Linked DNA regions of Homo sapiens: all the other regions are linked to region 2. The links are contacts of gene promoters, found by promoter capture Hi-C in human tissues and cell types (Jung and others, 2019). All regions are on one chromosome and are shown on one strand. Each heading gives the region's core, a stretch centred on a gene start or on the middle of the fragment in contact. The rest is flanking DNA. Distances are from core to core; before and after follow the strand shown.

Region 1 (3,139 bases), core at 57-2,556, 170 kb after region 2:
GGAACCAAAGTTTGTGTCACTTATGTCCCAATGAATTGTTTTCTTTCTGTGCATTTAATTCAATATCTTATTTTCCCATGCAACCCACTGGTTGGCCTCTTGTAAAAAGGAGAGACTTTTGCCTATGGTTCCATGAAATGGAAAGGGATCATTTTCTTTTGTAACGTGGCTTGGCCCCCACAGCTATGCCACAGGGAGCAAGGTCACCAAAGTTGCTCAGAAAAAGAGAACCCAAAACCGTAGCATGCCAGCAAAAGGGTAAGAATTTCTTACCAGCCAGGCTTCTGGACTTTCTCTGTGTGTGTGTGAAAACTGGTTAAGTGAATGACAAAATTCACTGTTTCCCTCCTCTGCAAGGCTTTAACCCATTTCCTGTTGGCCAAGAATATTCTTATCTTTAATACTAATGTAAAATCATATACATTTCTGCTACGTTAATACTAGAGACAAGTTCTGTTTAGAAACAACTCCAAGAACAGTTTTGTTTTTGTTGTTGTTGTTTGAGAGGGAGTCTCGCTCTGCTCCCCAGGCTGGAGTGCAGTAGCATAATATTGGCTCACTGCAACCTCCACCTCCTGGGTTCAAGCGACTCTCCCACTTCAGCCTCCCGAGTAGCTGAGACTACAAGCATAGGCCACCATGCCCGGCTAACTTTTGTATTTTTAGTAGAGACAGGGTTTCACCATATTAGCCAGGCTGGTCTTAAACTCCTGGCCTCAAGTGATCTGCCTGCTTCAGCCACCCAAAGTGCTGCGATTACAGGCATGAGCCAAGAAGGGGTTTTTATGTTTTATTTTCACACTGAAAATCAGTCATATTCGCTTCAGCCTCGAAGAGCATGTTTACGTAAAATTAAATGGGTGTTGACAGCAAACTAGACCTAATAAAAAAAGAAGTCGATAAACCTCTGAGACAGAAAGTATTAAAACATTAGAATGCTCATGCTTTCCAAAGCCAAACAATGTTTACAAAAAAATTTCATCTGAATTCCCATTTTTAAATTTTGCTATTTTTTAGGAGGAGGGTTTAGAAAATTACTTGGGAGCTCTTAAAGCTGACTGCACAAATATTGTCGAGTAAAGCTTAATGTAGTGTAATAAGGAGAGAAGTTTTTGTCTATTATTAAAATTTAAAACAAAGCTACTGTAAATGAACCAGACACTACCTAGAAAAATTACACATAAATCAATTGAACAGAGTCCATCAACAGATAAAGCTAATAATGGAAAACTGAGATATAAGAAAAGTAACATTGTACATTAGAAGAAAAGGGATGAAACTAGTCAACAAGTAATTTCAGATTCAATAGGACATTCATTAGCAAGAAAATTAACTTAGACTCAGCATCACATCTTATAGAAAAAGTTATATGTGAATAAAAATGACTAAAAAGAAAGTAAAAATATAGAACTATTCATAGAACTTTAAGTTGGAGATGGCCTCCTTACGTAAGCGGAAGCCAAAAAGTGGAAAGAAGATGTAGGGCAGTGGTAAAAGACACTGCTGCATAAAAATTTAAAATATCTCAAAAAAGAAGACTCCACCAGCATTACTGAGAAACAAACACAAAGGCGAGGAAAACATATAACAGACAAAAGGTTAGTATCTCCCATATAAAAAGAGCATTTATAAATTAATAAGAAGGAAGCAAACAACCCAAAACAATTATTCTGAATAGTGTATCATTTACAGAAAAGGAACTATACATCATTAAACATAAAAATAATGAGAAATACTGGGAACCTTCATCCAAGCTCATAAATTTCTTCTAATCTTAGTTCTTGCTCACTTTATTTTTTAATTTGGAACCTACCAAAGATAATAAATTCCTCTTTTTGCCACAGCTTAAGCTAGTTTAAACTGGCAAGCAACCACTTGCAAGTAACCAGTTTATAAACATAATGAAAAGGTGCTTCCAAGAACCTCAATAAACAGCATGTAGACAAACAAATGCCATATTTTAAATAACATGGTATGTTCTTTAACTCATCATCTGATGCTTGCTGGGGGAACTAAAATATTTATCAAAACTCTAAAGAAGTTATTGCCCTGTGAGATAATGAAAAAGGCTGTTTCATAGGAAACGTGTACTTCACCCACTTAGTTCAGGAGATCATACCCTGTAGTATTTGGTTTAAATAAACAGTGAACCTGAACCCTTGAAACTGCATGCAGTCCATCTCACATGCAATTACACCCACAGGCTCAAAATAAAGGGATGGAGGAAAATCTACCAAGCAAATGGAAAACAGAAAAAAGCAGGAGTTGCAATCCTAATCTCAGATGACTTTAAACCAACAAAGATAAAAAAAGACAAAGAAGGGTATTATGTAATAGTAAAGGGTTCAATTCAACAAGAAGGCCTAACTATCCTAAATACATATGCACCCAACACAAGAGCACCCAGATTCAGAGAGCAAGCTCTTTGAGACCTTCAAAGAGATCTAGACATCCATACAATAATAGTGGGAAACTTCAATACCTCACTGACAGTATTAGACAGATCATCAGGTCAGAAAATTAACAAAGATATTCAGGACCTGAACTCAGCACTGGATCAAATGGGCCTGATAGACATCTGCAGAACTCTCCACACAAAAGCAATAGAATATACATTCTTCTCACCACCACATGGCACACATTGAAAAATCGACCACATAATCAGACACGAAACACTCCTCAGCAAACACAAAAGAACCGAAATCATAACAACCACTCTCTCAGACCATAGCACAATCAAATTAGAAATCAAGACTAAGGAATTTGCTCAAAACCATACAATTACATGGAAATTGAATAACCTGCCCCTGAATGACTTTGGGGTAAATAATGAAATTGAGGCAGAAATCAAGAAGCTATTTGAAACCAATGAGAACAAAGATACAATATACCAGAATCTCTGGAACACAGCTAAGGCAGGAGTAAGAGGGAAATTTATAGTACTAATTGCCCACTTCAGAGAGTCAGAACTCAGCTTCACAACCTAACATCACAACTAAAAGAACTAGAGAACCCAGAGCAAACAAACCCCAAAGCCGGCAGAAGACAAGAAATAATCAAAATCAAAACTGAACTGAAGGAGACAGAGACACACACACACACACACACACACACACACACACACACACACACAAAAGAT
Region 2 (2,992 bases), core at 237-2,736:
GGGGCCCACTCACCATCGCCCAGGCCCCCGTTGGCTGAAGGGCCATCCAGGGGGTGCAGGAGGGGATGCGGTGCAGCCAGGACCCGGGTGCGAGTTACGAGTGGGTGCGCACGGCGGTGAGATGACTCCACAGGAAAGGGCCGGCCTTGGGTGGGGAGGGGGGGCACCCGAGCTCAGCCAAGAGGGGCCCCCACCCAGCCAGGAGGGGGCGCTGAGAGGGGCGGAACGACAGCTGGCCCAAAAGGGGTGGGATAGAGTTCCTTGTTAGGCCCAGAGCCAGGGCCTGGAATAGAGTAGGGGACAGGGGAGAGGATGGGGGCGGTTAGAAACATGGGGTGTGCATGGATCCAATCAGGCCTGAGAAGCCAGGGAGGAGGGAAGGGGGTGAGGCTTACTGGGTGCCTCACATTGGACAGGGAAAGCTGAGGACCTAGAACATTTTCCAGGGTCCCATGGGAACATGGCCAGATAAAACCCCCCGGCAGCGGCCCCAGGGCACAGGTTCCCCTGTGTTCCAGCAGAGCTGCACCTGCTGGGCAAGTGAACCCAGAAACCCACCCTCTGCCCGGGATGACCCCATCTGAGTACTGCGGCAGGGGGCGTTCCCATCACAGCCTGCAGGCTCACAGCACCCTGCCATGGAGTCTCCCCAAAATAAAGCTTGGATGAGGCTCCCCTGTCTCTCAGGATGGGGGTGCAGGGGTGAGATGAGGGGCTGGACTTTGGGAAGTGGGTCCAGCTTGTTTCCCTGTTATTTAAGGGGGTGACTCTGGCTTTTGAAAGGATACAAAAAGTCTCTTGGGAAGGGTCCCAGACGGCTTCTGAAAGGGGCTCCCCTCTGCCCATTTCTAGGGAAACCCAATGTTTAGGAGACTGTGTCAGGAAGCATACTATTAGAGGAGATCTCTCCTCTCTTGAACTCAGGAGCTGAATGCCATTCCAAGGGACTCCCTATATGTGGGAAGGCTCCATTTAGGGGTATCCCATATCACCTAGGATCCCAGGCACCTGGTGGCAAAGAATACCCTCAATTTTGGGGGGTTCAGAGGCCAGAGGGATCAATATGTGGAGGGCGAATATCTCCCGCAGAAGCCTGGGGACTGCTCAAATGCAATCACCCCTAATTTATCAGGAATCCCAAGTTCCACCCCCAACCAGGAGGGTAAATGAGCCTTGGGTAGCGAGAAATCGGGAACCCCGAAGCCGCTCTTGGCCAGAGGGGCGGGGCAGCCAGAGACGTAGGGAATCCCCCACCCCTGCAGTCCCTAAGGGTGGAGAGTGCGGTGGGGATGTGCCTCCAACTGCGCGCCCCGGGGCGTTCTTGGCTCGCACCCGCGAACCCCACCCCCCCCAACAATCCAGCTCAGGGGTCTCCAGGAGGAGAGCCCCCCAATTCCCAGAACTCCTGCCCCCGAACTTCAGTACCTTGCGCGCTGCAGCCCCAGCGCCATGGCTCGCCAGTCGCCGCTCCGGAGCCCTCGGAGGCCCCTAGCCCCCTCCCCGGCCTTGCGAGCCCCCTCCCCAGCTCCTCCCCACGCCGCGCGGTTGGCTGTGCCACGCCAGGCCTGAGGCTCTGATTGGGCAACGGTATGTCACTCCTGAAAAGGAGGCGGAACCAGAGGGAAAGACTTGGAAAGGCAAGGGGGGGATACCGTGTAATACACACCCCCCAACCACGCCCCTCGCCGCGGACTTCCTCGGCAGTGTATCCCGCACCGTCGGCTGAACGCGCCTTCTCTAGTCCAGCCTCTGAAGTGCCAACGCCAGTACTCTTCTGAACCCACTCAGTTCACTCTGCTCTCTGGACCCCAGTCCCCAGCCTCTAACCCCCACCTCTTCTCACCTTTCCATTTCCTAACCCCAGTTGAGCCCCTCTGACCTCCAATCCCACCCCTTCCAAACCCCTAGCCCTGCCTTCTCTATCCCTTCTAAGGTATTCACAGAGTACCCCACATCTCCTCCCCACCCCCCAACTCCCAACCCCACCCCAGTTCCACAATCCTTGGCCCTCTGGCACCTACCCTTCTCTCTCTCTCCCCAGCCCCTCCCTGCCACCCCAGTCCCATACCCCACTTCGCCCCCATTCCTCCAGTCTGCACCCTCTGCACCCCAGCTTACCTTCCCTACCCCCTCTACTCCACCCTAACCTCTTGGCCTCTCTGACTCCCTTTTCAGGTTCCCATTGATGAATAATTAAGCTTATGTCAAGTAAATATGTTTTAACTCAATCACACCTACTTCAAAAAAGAGCCGAGAAATGTATTTTTTTTTAACTAGTCGACTATGAAGGGAGAAGTACAAAGGTACCAAGCAAGGGTGAAAGCATTACAGTTGGATAAGGAACAGAGTGTGTGTGTGTGTGTGTGTGTGTGTGTGTGTTGGACCACTATTCTGGATTTGGTTGGCAGGGAAGAGGATACTACAGCAGAAGTGGCCTTGTTGAACCTTGAACTTGCCAGGCAAGTTGCTCACCTTAGGGCCTTTGCACTTGCTGTTCCCACAGCTTAGCACACTCTTCCTCCAGGAATCCACACGGCTCCCCGGCTCACGCCAGTTCCCCACTCTGTTTTCTTTTGGGAAACCACTTCTCTGTCCTCTTCATCTATTTAATTTGAATAGGGCTTGGCCACTGCTCTGCCTTCACCAGCTCCAGGGATGGACATAGGATCCAAACCTGGCTAATCAGTTGAGTCTGCTTCCCTGGCCACAGTGATTGGTTCAGGGAAGGCATGTTACCTAATTTAGCCCAATGAGAATCAACCCTGAGACATTTGCTGAAACCATTAGGAAAGAGGATTTTCTATGTCTGCTGGAATTGCTGGGCAGATGGAGCAGATGGGGCTCACACTGCCACAAAGAGAGGAGAGGCTTTATGAGATGAGGTTCAGTGCAAAAGAGATTGTGCAGAAATGAACGATTGTGAAAGGCAGTTTTGACACCAGCACTTGAGTGCCTGGATCCAGCCATACCTGAACTCCAGTTTAATTCTTGG
Region 3 (3,098 bases), core at 37-2,536, 250 kb before region 2:
TTCACCATGTTGGCTAGGTTGGTCTTGAACTCCTGACCTCAAGTGAGCCTGCCTCGGCCTCCCAAAGTGCTGGGATTATAGGCACGAGCCACCACACATGACTCAAAGGCTAAACTCTTGAGAGTGGGCCATGCTGCCCCAAGAAGCTCCACTGGATTTATTTGAAGGTCCTTGCCAAATCAGTTGGGGAAAAAAAGGCAGATTCAGCCCATGGATCCTTAAGTACCACTCGAAGAGTGGCATGCTTTTCCCAAATGTCACCTTTTGTCTTTAAGGCAAAGGTGGTGCCAGATCTTCAGCTCTCATGTCTCCTGCACAAACTCTCCCAGGCGTGAGAAGAGACTCCACTCTGCAGAAACTCTGTCTCTAAGGGGGAAGTGACAGTCAGAGAAGGGAACAGGGATATTACTGAGGCCAGAAGGCCCCTCTCCCCTCAGTGAGGCCCACGCTCGTGCCCAAAGCCTGTCTGTCTTCCTAAATAATGCAGTGTGGAAGAGTAGAGGCTTTGCAGCCAAGCAGACAGGATTTCATAACCCTGGTTCCAGTACTTCCCAGTGTGTGATCTTGGACCATCAACTGGGCCTCTGAACCTCAATCTCCTCCTCTATAAAAGTGGCACAATGGCCGCAGGCGGTGGCTCACGCCTGTAATCCCAGCATTTTGGGAGGCCGAGGTGGGCGGATCACTTGAGGTCAGGAGTTTGAGACCAGCCTGGCCAACGTGGCGAAACACTGTCTCTACTAAAAATACAAAAATTAGCCGGGCGTGGTGGTGGGCACCTGTAATCTCAGCTATTCAGGAGGCTGAGGCAGGAGAATCACTTGAACCCAGGAGGCGGAGGTTGCAGTGAGCCGAGATAGTGCCATTGCACTCCAGCCTGGGCAACAAGAGCAGAACTCTATCTCAAATAAAACCCAGAAAACCAAAAAAAAAAAAAAAAAAAAAAACCCAAAACAAAACAAAAAGAAAAAACAAAAACAACAACAACAAAAAATGGCACAGTAATAGCTTAATTCCCAAGCTTGTTCAGGATTTTGTGGGTCAGGAATGTGAAAAGGGTTTGACTGGATGTTCATTTCTGTTCCACGTGGCATCATGTGATGAGGGCTGGAGGACCCACCTCCAAGATGGCTTCTTCACTCCCATGTCTGGAAGCTTCAATTCTCCTGGGCCTTCTCACAGCTCCATGCTCTTAGGGGAGCTGCAATTCTTTTTTTATTATTTATTTATTTATTTATTTGAGACGGAGTTTCGCTCTGTCGCCTAGGCTGGAGTGCAGTGGCCGCGATCTGGGCTCACTGAAAGCTCCACCTCCTGGGTTCACACCATTCTCTTGCCTCAGTCTCCCGAGTAGCTGGGACTGCAGGCGCCTGCCACCACGCCCGGCTAATTTTTGTATTTTTAGTAGAGACGGGGTTTCACCGTGTTAGCCAGGATGGTCACGATCTCCTGACCTCGTGATCCGCCGCCTTGGCCTCCCAAAGTGCTGGGATTACAGGCGTGAGCCACCGCGCCCGGCTGGGGAGTTGCAATTCTTACACAGTAGCCTGGGAGCCAAAGAGATCACGACGGAATCTGCTGGTTCCCTTAAAATGTAGATCCAGGCCTGGCGGTGTCACTTGTTTGTTTGTTTGTTTGTTTGTTTAGACAGGGTCTCGTTCTGTCACCCAGGCTGGAGTGCAGCGGCGCCATCATAGCTCACCGCAGCCTCTACCTCCTAGGCTCAAGGGATCCTCTTGCCTCAGCCTCCCGAGTAGCTGGGACTACAGGTGCGGGCCACCACGCCAGCCTATTTTTAAAAGTTATATTTTTGGCCGGGAGTGGTGGCTCACGCCTGTAATCCCAACAGTTTGGGAGGCGGAGGTGGGTGGAAGTCGGGAGTTCAAGACCAGCCTGACCAACATGGATATACCCTGTCTCTACTAAAAATACAAAATTAGCCACGTGCGGTGGCGGACCCCTGTCATTCCAGCTACTCGGGAGGCTGAGGCAGGAGAATCGCTTGAACCCAGGAGGCGGAGTCTGTGGTGAGCCGAGATCACGCCATTGCACTCCAGCCTGGGCGACAAGAGCGAAACTCCGTCTCACAACAAAACAAAAAAGTTATTTTTAGTAGAGTTGGGGTCTTTCTGTGTTGCCCAGGTTGGTCTTGCAGTCTTGGGATCAAGCGATCCGCCCACCTCTGCTTCTCGGTGTTGGAATTACAGGCGTGAGCCGCCATGCCCAGCACAGTGTCACATCTGTCATATTCTATGGGTCAAAGCAGTCAAGGGTTCTTTCTCAATCAGACTAAGACCAACAGGAACAAGCTTATTGTATTAATTTGCTAGGGCAGCCTTAACAGACAAGAAGGGAGGTGAGTCGCCTTTTAGTTTAAGTAGATACGGTCATGCTATTCTCTAATTGGCCACCAGATGGCGCGCTGGACTTACTATTAGTACAGTTTGTAATTGCCCTTCCGAGAGTGGCCACCGCCACTCAAGCGACTGGACACTGGACTAAGTGCTTCTGTTAATTTGGATAAGACAAGACTCTCACTTTCTTTGATAAAATATAAATCTAGAAGAGCCCTAGGCTTTTATTGCATCATGATCATGGAAGGAGAGAAATGATCCTTTTCTGATTTGCCAGAGAAAACCAACCAGTATTTATTCTTTAGGAAATACAGAGATGCTATTTAACCTCCTGGTCACCATAGCAACAAATAATCAAGGAAGACAACCAATCAGAATGCAGGTTTCTTTGGGAGGTTCTTTTTTTTTTTTTTCAGATATTGCAACAATTTCTAAAAAAATCTTAGACTCTTTTGTTCAAATTATCCTTTCAAGGAAAGACACAAATGAACAGAGTTAACAAATGAGGCTGGTAACAGGAAAATTAACTGGAGCTCCTGGCTGCACGGGAGAACAGAATGAATGTTTAGGGTATGTTCTCAATGTGCCACTCTATTAAAATTGATTTTTTTTTTTTTTTTTTTTTTTTTTGTAGACAGAGTCTTGCTCTGTCACCCAGGCTGGAGTGCAGTGGCGTGATCTCGGTTCAATGCAAACTTCGCCTCCCAGGTTCAAGCGATTTTCCTGCCTCAGCCTCCCGAGTAG

Evidence for each region. The method cuts DNA at HindIII sites, captures the fragments that hold promoters and counts their contacts. A contact is called where the count stands out against the background at its distance.
Region 1: a contact is called between a fragment that was not itself captured here and the fragment with the promoter of HIF3A in region 2, in 5 of the 25 tissues and cell types used here (IMR-90 fibroblasts, dorsolateral prefrontal cortex, liver and 2 more).
Region 3: a fragment that was not itself captured here is called in contact with the fragment with the promoter of HIF3A in region 2 in 1 of the 25 tissues and cell types used here (aorta).

Annotation. Positions count from the first base shown.
Region 1 is chr19:46,129,302-46,132,440 of GRCh38, reverse strand. It overlaps a transcript of IGFL2 not described here. Among named protein-coding and RNA genes, the nearest start is that of IGFL3, 6.2 kb to the right of the region's middle. The HindIII fragment of the contact is 6,419 bases long and covers 1-3,139 here.
Region 2 is chr19:46,295,536-46,298,527 of GRCh38, reverse strand. HIF3A (hypoxia inducible factor 3 subunit alpha) reads right to left here and starts at 1,486. Exons shown (of 15, transcript NM_152795.4): 1 at 1,426-1,486. The coding sequence starts at 1,451. The HindIII fragment of the contact is 13,814 bases long and covers 1-2,992 here.
Region 3 is chr19:46,542,182-46,545,279 of GRCh38, reverse strand. It overlaps the pseudogene PPP5D1P. Among named protein-coding and RNA genes, the nearest start is that of PNMA8B, 48 kb to the right of the region's middle. The HindIII fragment of the contact is 3,360 bases long and covers 1-2,966 here.